Regions from separate parts of the Homo sapiens genome. Here all the other regions are linked to region 1. The links are contacts of gene promoters, found by promoter capture Hi-C in blood cells and fetal thymus (Javierre and others, 2016). All regions are on one chromosome and are shown on one strand. Each heading gives the region's core, a stretch centred on a gene start or on the middle of the fragment in contact. The rest is flanking DNA. Distances are from core to core; before and after follow the strand shown. Region 1 holds the start of PKD1L1-AS1 (PKD1L1 antisense RNA 1). Region 2 has its middle 270 kb from the start of SNORD151. Region 3 has its middle 220 kb from the start of SNORD151.

The links. The method cuts DNA at HindIII sites, captures the fragments that hold promoters and counts their contacts. A CHiCAGO score of 5 or more calls a contact.
Region 2: a fragment that was not itself captured here is called in contact with the fragment with the promoter of PKD1L1-AS1 in region 1 in 1 of 17 cell types (fetal thymus); the score reaches 5.1 in fetal thymus.
Region 3: a contact is called between a fragment that was not itself captured here and the fragment with the promoter of PKD1L1-AS1 in region 1, in 4 of 17 cell types (erythroblasts, total B cells, fetal thymus and 1 more). The highest score is 7.2, in erythroblasts.

Annotation. Positions count from the first base shown.
Region 1 is chr7:47,792,535-47,797,186 of GRCh38, reverse strand. It overlaps PKD1L1-AS1 (PKD1L1 antisense RNA 1), which reads right to left and starts at 1,896. Exons shown (of 4, transcript NR_161269.1): 1 at 1,744-1,896. PKD1L1 (polycystin 1 like 1, transient receptor potential channel interacting) reads left to right here. Exons shown (of 57, transcript NM_138295.5): 55 at 1,037-1,198; 56 at 4,390-4,560. The HindIII fragment of the contact is 8,231 bases long and covers 1-4,652 here.
Region 2 is chr7:47,196,875-47,201,526 of GRCh38, reverse strand. No RefSeq gene overlaps it. Among named protein-coding and RNA genes, the nearest start is that of SNORD151, 270 kb to the left of the region's middle. The HindIII fragment of the contact is 4,105 bases long and covers 540-4,644 here.
Region 3 is chr7:47,242,975-47,247,626 of GRCh38, reverse strand. No RefSeq gene overlaps it. Among named protein-coding and RNA genes, the nearest start is that of SNORD151, 220 kb to the left of the region's middle. The HindIII fragment of the contact is 280 bases long and covers 2,241-2,520 here.

The DNA of each region.
Region 1 (4,652 bases), core at 647-3,146:
AGACGATGCTGCTTAGCAGCATGGAGGGGAGGCTCTGGGTCAGAAAGCTCCTGAAGCCAGCAGCAGCTTGGGGCCTTATAACATTATCAGTGGGTAACAGCTGTCCCCTGAGGTTTTGCAGGGTGTGTAAAGCTGACAGGCTCTAAATGGCTAAAATGTTTGTTTGGGTGTTTTTTTTTTTTTTTTTGAGACGGAGTCTTGCTCTGTCGCCCAGGCTGGAGTGCAGTGGCGCAATCTCTGCTCACTGCAAGCTCCGCCTCCCGGATTCACGCCATTCTTCTGCCTCAGCCTCCCGAGTAGCTGGGACTACAGGTGCCCACCACCACACCCAGCTAATTTTTTTTTTTTTTTTTTTTGTAATTTAGGAGAGACAGGGTTTCACCATGTTAGCCAGGATGGTTTCAATCTCCTGACCTCATGATCCGCCTGCCTTGGCCTCCCAAAGTGCTGGGATTACAGGCATGAGCCACTGCGCCCAGCCCTGTTTGGGTTATTTTTTAAACAATTGGATGTGTAAAAATTCGAGTTTGTTACCAGTAGGCTTTTGAGCTAACAGCTTACAGCCTGCAGTGAAGAAATAAACCACCTGGAGGCTTATAGAGCACATGTTGAGGGCACAACAACTTGCTGAGCCCAAGACCCTTTCTGGTCTCCCAGGCACAGGCACAGGCCTCTCTCCTGAGGCTCACCCACAGCTCAGAATGGTTCACCAGGGGACACTGAAACTGAGACACAGACTTTACATATGGGCATGCACATCGCGTTGATAATCTCAGTCTCCAAAGTTAGATACTGAAAACAACCTTTATAATACAATGAATTTCCATTGCTGAGATCATCTTACTGCCATTTAGTTCAATTCAGGAGAGGTATTTTCCTGATTTTGCTTTTTTTCACCAAGAAATCACTATTTTACCAAAAGCTCGTAAAGTAGCATCATCAGATATAATCTCCATTGCATAGTTTATCACGTTAACAAAGCTCTTTATTTAGGCTGCTAACATGAAATTTGTCTTTATTTTTTTCTTTTTCCTAGCTGAGAGGTTTTCTCATGACTTTACCCCAAAAAAGAAAATCTTTTCAAAGTAAATCTTTTGTGAGACTTAAAGATGTCACTGCTTATATGTGGGAAAAGGTCCTCACCTTTCTGAGACTGGAAACACCAAAGTTGGAAGAGGCTGAGATGGTTGAGAATCACGTAAGCTGTGAGATCTTGGATTACTGAGCATGATAGCACACACTCAAGATGATGGTTTCATTGCAGAATTTTGCTTTCAGTTATCAAAGCATGAGTATGTTTCCATGCCAAATCTCCTTGCAAAGCCACAAAATTAGTCTCAATCATAGTGGAACTCATGGAATTTTCCCGTGCAATTCTAAAACACTTTACAGATTACCAAGCACATTCTCCTGCCTTAACTCACTATATCCTTATAGTGACCTGTACAGTTGGAAAGACAGAGTTTATGGTCTTCCCCAGGACACAGACATGCTGTATTCTGTCCCCTGAGTTAGTCATTTGCTTTTGGTGCCTGCTATCAAACCCAAACTTCTATCCAAAACATAGAGCCTTAGGTGCATTACTTGAGTTCAGTCACCCCAGACATGCATGTAAACAAATCAAACCAGGCGTTTGCACACTGAATACTCACTTTCTTCATGGCTGATATATTAGTTTGTTTTCATACTGCTGATAAAGACATACCCAAAACTGGGAACAAAAAGAAGTTTAATTGGACTTACATTTCCACATGACTTGGGAGGCCTCAGGTTCATGGTGGGAGGTGAAAGGCACTTCTTACATGGTGGTGGCAAGAGAAAAATGATCCAGATGCAAAAGTGGAAACCCATTATAAATGATCAGATCTTGTGAGACTTCTTCACTATCACAAGAATAGCATGAGAAAGACCAGCCCCTATGATTCAATTACCTCCCACTAGGTCCCTCCCACAACATGTGGGAATTCTGGGAGATATAATTCTAGTTGAGATTTGAATAGGGACACAGCCAAACAATATCATTCTGCTCCTGGCCCCCTCCAAATCTCATGTCCTCACATTTCAAAACCAATTATGCCTTCCCAAAAGTCCCCCAAAGTCTTAACTCATTTTAGCATTAACCCAAAAGTCCACAGTCCAAAGTGTCATCTGAGACAAGGCAAGTCCCTTCCACCTATGAGCCTGTAAAATAAAAAATAAGTTAGTTACTTCCTAGATACAATGGGGGTACAGGGATTGGGTAAATACAACTGTTCCAAATGGGAGAAATTGGCCAAAACCAAGGGGTTACAGGCCCCATACCAGTCCAAAATCCAACAGGTCAATCAAATTTTAAAGCTCCAAAATGATCTCCTTTGATTCCAGGGCTCACATGTAGGTGATGCTGATGCCAGAGGTGGGTTCCCATGGTCTTGGGCAGCTCTGCCCCTGTAGCTTTGCAGGGTACAGCCTCCTTCCTGGCTGCTTTCATGGGCTGGCATTGAGTGTCTGTGGCTTTTCCAGGTGCACAGTGCAAGTTGTCAGAGGATCCACCATTCTGGAGTCTGGAGGATGGTGGCCCTCTTCTCACAGCTCCACTAGGTCCCTTCCACACTGCCCTAGCAGTTCTCCATAAGGGCCCCGCCCCTGCAGAAAACTTTTGCCTGGGTATCCAGGCATTTCCATACATCTTCTGAAATCTAGGCTGAGGTTCCTAAACCTCAATTCTTGACTTCTGTGCACCCATAGGCTCAATACCACATGGAAGCTGCCAAGGCTTGGGGGTTCCACTCTCTGAAGCCCCAGCCCAAGTTGTACAATGGCCCCTTTCGGCCATGGCTGGAGCAACTGGGACACAGGGCACCAAGTCTCTAGGCTGCACACAGCACGGGGAACCTGGGCCCAGTCCACTAAACCACTTATTCCTCCTTGGCATCCAGGCCTATGATGGGAGAGGCTGCTGTGAAGGTCTCTGACATGACTTGGCGACATTTTCCCCATGGCCTTGGGGATTAACATTAGGCTGCTTGCTACTTATGCAAATTTCTGCAGCTGGCTTGAACTTCTCCCCAGAAAATGAGTTTTTCTTTTCCACTGCATTGTCAGGCTGCAAATTTCTTTAACTTTTATGTTCCATTTCCCATTTAAAACGGAATGCTTTTAACAGCACCCAAGTCACCTTTTGAATGCTTTGCTGCTTAGAAATTTCTTCTGCCAGATACCCTAAAAATCATCTCTCTCAAGTTCTAAGTTCCACAAATCTCTAGGGTGGGGCAAAATGCTGCCAGTCTCTTGCTAAAACATAACAGGAGTCACCTTTGCTCCAGTTCCCAACAAGTTCCTTATCTCCATCTGAGACCACCTCAGCCTGGACTTTATTTTTCATATCACTATCAGCATTTTTGTCAGAGTCATTCCACAAGTCTCTAGGAGGTTCCAAACTTTCCCACATTTTCCTGTCTTCTTCTGAGCCCTCCAAACTGTTCCAACCTCTGCCTGTTATCAAGTTCCAAAGTCACTTTCACATTTTTGGGTATCTTTTCAGCAACACCCCACTCTACTGGTACCAATTTACTGTTTTAGTTCATTTTCAAGCTGCTGATAAAGATATAACTGAAACTGGGGACAAAAAGATATTTAATTGGACTTACAGTTCCACATGGCTGGGGAGGCCTCAGAATCATGGCGAGAGGTGAAAGGCACATCTTACGTGGCAGTGGCAAGAGAAAAATGAGCAAGATGCAAAAGCGGAAACACCTGATAAGCCATCAGATCTCATGAGATCTTATTCACTATCACAAGAATAGCACGGGAAAGACCAGCCCCCATGATTCAATTACCTCCCCCCAGGTCCCTCCCACAACACAGGAATTCTGGGAGATACAATTCAAGTTGAGATTTGAATGGGGACACAACCAAACCATATCAGGTGATATTTAAGCATCATCCAGTAAGGTTCTGAAGGCAGTCATATGTAATCACGGTACTGTACATTTTGATAGGGCTTTATTCTCTGTCATGTGCTTCCCCATCCATTATTGCCTTATTTTTTTAATAGTGCTCAATAAAGATTTATTAATCGAAGGGATGAAAGAATGACCTTATTTTCCCATAGCAGCATGATGCATTACTGCCTTTAAATCCATTCAATAGTTTTTTTTATGTAGGCATTATTAACTGTAGCATTTACATGTATATCTGTATACGTACATTATTATTGAAGCAACTGAGATATAGAGATGTAAGAGTAGGCCCAGCACCCAGGTCTTCTAACTGCAGGCAGAGTCAGTATGTTTCCTAACATAGCCCAATACTGTCTACAGATGATACCCCTAAATGCTTCACATAATGAGGAAAGGGGGATAATGAGATTCTTGAATGCATTTACTAATCTAATTTTCTTCCCTTCAGAATTACTACTTGGATGAATTTGCAAATCTGTTAGACGAACTTCTGATGAAGATTAATGGTTTGTCCGACAGCCTACAACTCCCCCTTCTGGAAAAAACATCCAACAACACAGGGGAGGCAAGGACAGAAGAGAGTCCCTTAGTGGACATTTCTAGTTACCAAGCTGCTGAGGTAAGACCATGCAAAATTATTTATGTCAATTTTCTTCATAGCAATTTAAGTTCTAAAGGAGTTTTGGAATAGTTGTTTTTCCAAATTATAAG
Region 2 (4,652 bases), core at 1,343-3,842, 600 kb after region 1:
GGTGTTGCTACAACAAAAACCTAAAACTGTGGAAATGGCTTTGGGACTGGATGATGGCTGGCACTGGAACAGGTTTGAAGGGAATGCAGGAAAAAGCCCAGATTGCCAAGAGTGGTGCATTCACAGTGATGGTGGTGAAGGCTTGGAAGAAAAGGAGAGCTGTAGGAAAACCTCATTCTTCTTAGAGATTACTTAAGTGCTTGGCCAGAATGCTGATAGAAACATGGACATTGAAGACTATTCTGCTGAGGTCTCAGATGAAAGTGAGAGACAGGTATGAGAAACTGGAGGAAAGGCCATTCTTGTTACAAAGAACTTGACTGACTTCTGTCATTGTCCTGGGACTTTGTAGAATGCACAACTTAAGAGCGATAAACTAGGATATTTGGTGGAAGAAATTTCTTCTAGCAAAGTGTTCAGGATACTGTATGGCTTCTCTTAACTGCTTATAGTAAAACGAAAGAAGAGAGAAATGATTTAAAGATGGAATTTGTAATTAAAAGTAAAACAGAACCTAAAGATTTTGAAAATTCTAAGCTTGTCTATTTAAAGAATAAATATGTATGCTTAGAAGAGAAAACCAAGGGTATGGCCAAATGAACATTTGATAAGGAAATTAACATGGATAGAAGGGACCAGATGCTATTCATCAAGACAATGGATGATGACCCCAAAGCCATTTCGGATATATTTGGGGTTCCCATGCTCATTGCAGGCCCAGAGTTCTAGGGCCTTGCGGGCAGAACAGTTTCTGGGGAGAAACCAGGATACCCATAGGACCTCAGGGTTTGTGGCCCAAGGCTGTCCCAAGTCTCTGTTCTCCACATTCTGGTGTAATGCTCCTTGGCCACCCCTGCTATGGCTTAGAGGGGACCTACATGCAGCTGGGGCCACTGCTACAGAAGACACAGGGAGTGAGATTTAATGTTGTTTATGTGGTGCTAATTTTTCAGGCAAGCAGAATGCAAGAGCTGTGGAGGCATAGCTACCTCCACCTAGATTTTCAAGAATGCCTTGAGGCCAAGGCATATCTGCCACAGCGGTGGGGCTGTTACAGAGAACCCACCCTATGGGAATGCTTAGTGAAGTTGTGGGGACAGGACCACCCCCAGAGACCTCATGGCTATAGAAACACCAGTGTGCAGCACCAGCCTGGGAGGGCTGTAGGCACCTGGACTCCCACCTGAGAGAACTGTGGTATGAGCAAAAACAAAAATCTCTAGCAGAGCCATGAGGGTGGGGGCTGCCAGGAATCTTGAGGGCAAATCTCTGCCCCAGTATGTCTGGAAGGTGATACATGGACTCAAAGAAAATTATTCTCTAGCCTTAAGATTTAATGTTTGCTCTGTTGTGTTTCGGACTTGTCATTTCTTTCTTCTTATTTCTCTCTTTTGAAATGAAAATGTTCTAATGTAAGTATTTCTTGTAAAAGTTTTGTATGAAAATGTTTATAGATGCATTATTTATAATAGCCCCAATCCGGAAACAGCCCAAATGTCTATCACTAGGAGAATGAATAAGTAAATTGCGGTATACTTGTGGTAAACACTTTTTATCTATGTAACAACATGGATGCCTGTCCCACTATTGTATTTTGGAAATACATATCTAATTTGATTTTACAGGTTCACAGCTGGGAGGAAATTAGCCTTAGGATGAATAGTTCCTTGAGTCTCACCCACATGATGTTTACATGAGACTGGATTTAAAATTTAAAATTAATTCTGAGATAAATTAAGACTTGGGGGCTACTGGGGCTGTTGAAATGGAGTGACTGCATTTTCTTTTTATGTAAGAAAGAAGTGAACTTTGGGGGCCAGGAGCAAAATGCTATTGTTTGAATGTTCATGTCCCTCCAAAATTTATGTTGAAACTTAATCCCCACTGCAACCATATTGGGAAATGAGGTCTTTGGGAGGTGACTGGGTCATGAGGGCTCTGTTCTCATGATAGGATTAGATGCCCTTATGAAAAAACTTGATGGAAGTGGTTCATCTCTTTTTGCCCTTCTGAGGTCTCTGCCATGTGAGGACACAGCGTCCCTCCACTCTGGAGGATGCAGCATTCAATGTGCCCTCTTGGAAGTAGAGACTCGACCCTCGCCAGAAGGCTGAACCTGCTGGCATGTTGATTTTGGATTTCCCTTTCTCTAGAACTGTGAGAAATACATTTCTGTTCTTTATAAATTACCCAGTTTCAGGTATTTTGTTACAGCAGCACAGGTAGACTAAGACAGTCACTATGACAAACTCTAAATGGCAGCACATAATGACGATGTTATGGACTAAATATTCCCCCTCGAATTCATATGTTGAAGCTCTAACCCCCAATGGGGTGATATTTGGAAGTGGGGTCTTTGGGGGAGATTGAATTTAGATGAGGTGATGGGTGGGCCCATGATAGGATTAAGTGTCTTTGTAAGAAGAGACAAGAGAGACCAGAGTTCACTCACTTTTTGTCTTCATCTCTCTTTCTCTTTCTCTCCCTCTCCGCCTTCCCCCTGCCATGTGAGGACACAGAGAGAAGGTGACCATTTGCAAGTCAGGAAGAAGGCCTTCACCAGAACCCAACCATGCTGCAGACATTCTGATCAAGACTTTCAGCCTCCAGAACTGTGAGAAAATAAATGTCTGTTATTTTAGATGCTTAGTCCACGGTATTCTGTCATTGCAGCCCAAGTTGAACAAAGTAGATGATTGTAACAATAAAAATGAAAATAAAAACATCAGCAGTGAGCGTTTATTGAGCACGTGGGTACCAGGCATTAGGAGGAGCACTTAGTTGTGGGTTTATCTACATAAGCCACAACATGCCAGCACACTACTCTCTCTATAGGGTCAAACACTATCTCTATCCTACTGATAGTGAGCTGGCCTTAGACAGCTAAAATGACTTAAGCATCTAGGGAATTAGAAGAAACTTCCTAGGAGGAGATTCTTGAAAGACAACATGGGTTGGTTCGATATAAAGTGGGTCAAGGTGGGGGCCAGTTAGGCAGAAGCGTAGAATGTGAGAAGCCATGAGCAAAGTGAGTTTATGCTACACACTGGGAGGTGAGCACTGGGGAATGGTGAGGGATGAGGCTGCAGATGAATCAGGGACAGATCTGAAGGGTCTGGCAGGCAGTTTGGACTTTAACCTGGGCTCTTAAACTGCACTAAGCAGTGGGGCAGTGTAATCAGAAGAGCATTGCAGCTGTCATGTGAGGAATGAATTGAAGCCAAGAATATGACTAGAAAGGATGACTGTATCACAATCATCCAGTCAGAAGAGTAAATTGGGCTGGACCAAAGATGTTAAAGAAACATGATAAACAAAGGCAGGGATGCCCAGGGATTGATCTAGTGCTTTTTGTCTGGTCAAGCAGCAGCATGGAAGTGCTGAGGGCTGAGTGGACGATCAGTCTAAGGGGATAGAGATGATGTGTTTTCTTTTAGATATGTTGAATTTTCAATACCTGGGGGACTCTTAGTAAGGAGTTGGAAATGCTATTTGGGAGTTGGGGAAGGAAGGCTGTACAGAAGACACAGGAGGTTGGTCATTAACACGTGGTGGTGGCTGATGCTAGGGAGGTGACAAGGCAACTAAGGGAGCATGTGTAGCCTATGTAAAGGGAGACAGGAAGGCCACAGGGGAAGCCTAACATTTTACAGCAGAAGGAGAGTTGCTAGCTAAGGACACTAGAAGGAAGTGGTCACAGACTTGGGAGAAATCAGAAGGATGTGTGTGATCCTAGCCAACAGGGCCCTCAAGAACTGCAAAGAAATCCTTCTCTTCAGTGGATATATAATTTCTTTCTTTACCCCCACTGGAGGTATTCCAAACACTTTACTTACTTCCCACACTCCCCATCTGTCCTAGTTGGCTTGGGCTGCCATAACATAGTATCATAGGCTGGGTGGCTTAAGCAACAGAAATTTATCTTTTCACAGTTCTGGAGTTCAGATGACAAGATAAAGGTGCCATCGTTGGTTTCTGGTGAGGGCTCACTTCCTGGCTTGTAGACGGCTGCCTTCTTGCTGTGTCCTGACATGGCCTCTTCTCTGTGCATACAGGGGTGGTGGAGAGAGTACCCTACTCTTTTTCTCTCTTCCTATTCTTATAAGGCCACCAGTCCTAGCAGGTTAGGGACCCACTCTTAGGACCTCATTTAACCTTATTTACCTCCATAAAGACCTTATCTCCAAATATAGTTATATTAGGGGTTAGGGCTTCACCATAGGAATTTTGGGGGAACACAATTTAGTCCATTATACCACCCAGCTCACTCAATTTTTGTAGAAGGTCTCACCAAGAGATTTGTCAAATAACTGTCGAAGGGATGTAGGAGGAAATAATATCAACTGCAGAGGTGAGTGGGACTAGCCTAGAACATGAGGATCCTGAACTCCCCAAGACAGGAGGGAAGAGAAGACGTGAATGAGAGCAGGGACAAAAAATGAGAACAGAGAGAAGGGGATGCAAGGGGCTTTCACGTGGAGTGACACATTGTAAATGACTTCCTCTACTCCAGTGACTTTTTGAAAATTAATTTCCTAAAAATTGTGCTTGTATTCCCTCCCCACCTCTATTTTTAGCCATCCATTGCAGTAGATCATTTATGCTGTGAAGGTCTATTTTATGCCAAGTTCTGTGATTGAAGCTTGGGGAGG
Region 3 (4,652 bases), core at 1,131-3,630, 550 kb after region 1:
TGTTCAGGGATCAGAGCACCTGCTGCATACCCTCCTGCAGCAGGTCAGCTGTTTCATCCTAAGTCAGGGGCCTCTTCCATGGCTTGTAAGCAGTTCTAACTTCAGAGCCATGTGGCCTAAATTAGACTTGCAGTCTTTCCCCGAACCCCTAAGTCTTCCATACAGATTGGGCTCCACAGTGTCCTTCCAAGTGAAATGGCGAAAAGCAAAGAATTTAACAGGATCTTCGAGCCACTTTTGCATGACACAGCTGCTTCCTATTTTGGCTGCTCATTGCTCTTGGATCTGATCCATTTGTACCTTCTCCTAGCTGGCTTGGGACCACAGGGTACTGCAGAGAATGCATTCCCCGAGCTCCTTCGCCAATTCATTTCTGGATATGTAGTTATATACAGTCATGCACTGCCTAACAGTGTTTCTCTGAACAATGCATGTGGTGGTCTCATAAGATTATAATACTGTATTTTTACTGTATCTTTTCAGTGTTTAGGTATGTTTAGATACATAAGTACTTGCCATTGGTTACAATTTCCTACAGTGAATAGTACAGTAACATGCTGTGTAAGTTTTTTTTGTTTTGTTTTTTTGAGATGGAGTCTCACTTCGTCACCCAGGCTGGAGTGCAGTGGAGCGATCTTGGCTCACTGCAACCTCCGCCCTCTGAGTTCAAGTGATTCTCCTGCCTCAGCCTCCCAAGTAGCTGGGATTACAGGTGCCTGCCACTGCACCCAGCAATTTTTTTTGTTTTTGTCTCTTGGGTTTATCTCCTGGCTCATGCATAAATGTGTGAGTGTTTCCTGGGGTGCAGGCAGGACCATGAATAACAACAATTGCACTCAAATCTCTGTGGCAGGGAGCACCGGCCCAGATGAGCAAGTGTCACACACAGGGAAGAAGACATCAGCCATCTCTGAGACTGGCCATCCATCCAGGAGCATTTCTTGGGCTCAGAGCAATGGTGACAGGGGTCTCAGTCACTTGGAAAGACAGTACCCGGGATACCTTGAGACACCTAGCAGAGGCTGCTGTGAGGCGAGGCAGGAGTGGCAGACACACCACAAGTGGCCATGGGCTTGTGGCAAGAAGTGGACTGCCAGGCCCGTGTGGCCTGGCTTGCTGGTCGAAAGTATTCAGGGCATGCTGGGGGACTCTGGGAATAATCGTGGAGCTTTGGAGAACTGGGATCCCAAACCATTGAGTTAGACAAGTTCTGGGAACCCTGGGTTATACAGAGCAGGGGTATGTGTAGGGAGAAAAGGGCCTGAGTCACTGTCCCTTGCAGCTGAGACCTGGAGAGAGGGGCAGGGAGAGAGCATGGCTCCTACCAGAGCAGGTCCAAGGCCTGGTCCCTGCCTCCTCTTCCCTGTACTTTGGAATTATTACTCTGCAGGGTGGGCTCTGCTGGCAACAGATGCTTGTTGAGCACCCCATCTCTCACACCACCATCCCTCCTCTCCTTGGTAGGAAAACTGGGAGCCCCTTAACCCATTGCCTTCCAGGAAGCTCTCTAGACTACAAGCATCCCCAGGGCAGCTCCGGGATTTTGTGTAAGAAGGCACCAAGAGGATAGTCTAGAAGCTGAATTTACATGGAAGACATTTTAATCATTATTCGGAGTGTCCTGGGGGCTTCAGGCAGTTATGAGGAAGGAGCATTTCCATATCTTTCAGCTACTCCCCCCAACGGCACACCCTGTCAGCTGGCTGCATGTAAGACTCAACCTCCTACAGCTCCAACAAGAAGTCCTGGAGGAAACCATGTTTACTGATGCGCTTATGGGAGAACAATGAATGGCTGTGTTGTGATGCTGGGGTTTCGCCTCTGGTTTGGCTGTGACTTGATTGTGGGTTTACACAGCCTCATGCCCTCTTTTTTCGTCTGTAGAAGATGAAGGTTGGGCCAATTACCCTGTGAGGGGTGCCCCCACACATTCTGCTTTGCACGGAGATGAGTGTGGCCACACCAGGGCCATGGGGGACGTGGGACACCCGACAGGAGGCCCCATGAGGTTGGAAGAGCCCTTTGAGCAGAGCACCCATCGATCTTCCCAGAGCTCCTTGGGGTATGGAATTCCATTGCAGCGCAAATTATTTATTTTTTTGTACTCACAAGCCATAATTTGCTAATGAACCAAATTCTGTCCCATGTGGTGCTTGGCTCTGTTGACACTGACAGCTCTCCGAAGTCATTAGCCCAGGAACCATAAACAGACTCTTCTACTTTTTCTTTTTTCTAAAGCTTTGGTGACAGTCATTTCTCGTTTCTTGGACTCTTCCCATCTTCAGAAAAGAGCTAGTTCTCGAAAGCCACCAGTGTGTGGTATTCTCTTAAGTATATATTTTAAGATGCCAGAATTTTCTATCACATGATAAAAACAATAAGTTGGAAATAGTGAGGGAAAATGTCTCACTATTTACTTTTAATGATCAGTTTCTGCAGAGTGTTGATTGCTAATGCAGCCAGTGAAGTCAATTTTGAAAGTTGCTTCTGCCGAGACAGAGGAGGCATCTGAGAAAAGCTTAGGCCACCTTAACTTTCTAAGTGGCTTCAAGGAGATAGTCAAGTGGACCTATCCTGGGAGGGGCAAGGGCCTGTTCTTCTGGTGTCTGGTTGGGTTGTGTTTTCATCAGCTGTCATTAGTTGATGCAACAGAAGCCAGCCAATGCCACTGCTCACCAGAGGCATATTTCTTAGCTAGTAGGGACTGTCAGTGGCTCATGAGGGCAACTCTGTTCCTTGTGTCTTGCTCCACACTGCTACATTCTGAAGCTGGTGACACAGGGCTCTCTGTAATCTGGAACATCCTGTGCTCACAGCAGAAAGGAAAGAAAGCAGTGGGACATCCCAGCAAATGCCTCTGATAGCACCTGCCTGAATTGGTCATGGCAGGTCACAGGGTGAGAGCTTTGTCCAGGGCTAGGAAACATCCTCTGTGCACGCTGTCCAAGAGGTCGTGGGTGAAGGGTCGGAATCCGCTCACGCTGGGTTGCACTTCTGGAGGTGTGAGTTACAGGTGCAGTAAGATAAGCTTCCCTGTGCTCTTTCAGGCGCTATAGGCAGAAAAGCCAACATAAACTGGCTTTAAAAAAGAGGAAAGAATGCAAAAGGAAAGAAAAGAAGAGAAAATAGAGGTGTACCCACCTCAAAGGTCATCCTCCTTTTTGTGTGGTTTGACCAGGAGCTCATTCCCATCGCTGGTTCAACACTATTTGCACAGGCCTGCCTCAACAGATCTTTACTGCGACAATGCCGGCTACAGCCCTGCAGGCCCGGCATCCTCTCAGCTTCTCCAGAATGAGAATGGCTTCCCCAGGAGCTCAAGGTCTCTTTGTGTCTTGATGATTCTTACCTGGTCAGAGGAGTGATTGGATCGACCAGGCCCATCACCACCACTGCAAACCATAATTGAGAGTAGGGAGTGGTCTCCAAGAGGAACATGGAAGAAGGGGGAGCATCCTGGGTGCCAAGATGGAAACCCACAACTAGGCTTCATAGTTCCTGAAGTCACACAACCCTTTTGAGACCAGGCAGGTCACTCCTGAGGGATTTTATGCCTCATTCTATAAATAGTTGCACTGGATACTAGGAAGCTCATAGCCAACAATTTTCTTCTAATTTTATTTTGAATATATTCTTATCATAAAACATCCGTGCAATCCACTTAGATCTCAAATTCCACTTGACCACTACCCATTTCCACTTGTTTTCCCGGTGGTTACCATTATTATCAGATTAGTGTGCATCTTTTGAGGACATTTTCTGTTTGGAAGCAAGTATGTAGCCTACTTCATGCAGTGCTCAGAAAGAAAACCAGGAAAAATTATCATGAAAAACTTGGAGATTTGAGGTGATATCCAATTTCTTTACATGTATTTCACTTTATTTTTATTTCATTTTATTTAATTTTTAATTTTTATTTATTTATTTTTTTGAGATAGGGTCTTACTCTGTTGCCCAGGCTGGAGTGCAGTGGTACAATCTTGTCTCACTGCAACCTCCACCTCCCAGGTTCAAGTGATCCTCCCTAATCAGCCTCCTGAGTAGTTGGGATTACAGGTGTCCGCCACCACACCCAATCAGTTTTTGTATTTTTAGTAGATATGGGGTTTCTCCATGTTGGCCAGGCTGGTCTCGAACTCTTGACCTCAGGTGATCCACCCACCTCAGCCTTCCAAAGTGCTGGGATTACAGGTGTGATCCCTTGAGAGAGAGACAAGGAGAAAGAGAGAGGAGGGTGGTGGAAGGGAGGGAGGGGAAAGAAAGGATGAGCGACAGAGCCAGCTGGCTCCAAGGGTTTATTTTTAGCCACAGTGGGGCAGGTGGAGTCTAGGGAAACGGCCTTGTCATGAAGCCCATCTCTAGGTAAGAGGAATGGGCAGGGTTAAGTCATGTGGCCCCAATAAGACAAAGGAGGGGTGGTGTTTAGGAGCAAGGAGAGGAGGCCGTGGAGCCATCTATATTAGGAACTATCACTGTGCCTCACTCAAGGAGCTCCTGTCTCTGATAACCACTTTATGCATATTTATTTGAAAACAAATTTTTTTTTGAGATGGGGTCTCGCACTGTCGCCCGGGCTGGAGTGCAGTGGCGTGATCTCAGCTCACTGCAACCTCTGTCTACCATCTTCAAGAGATTCTCCTTCCTCAGCCTCC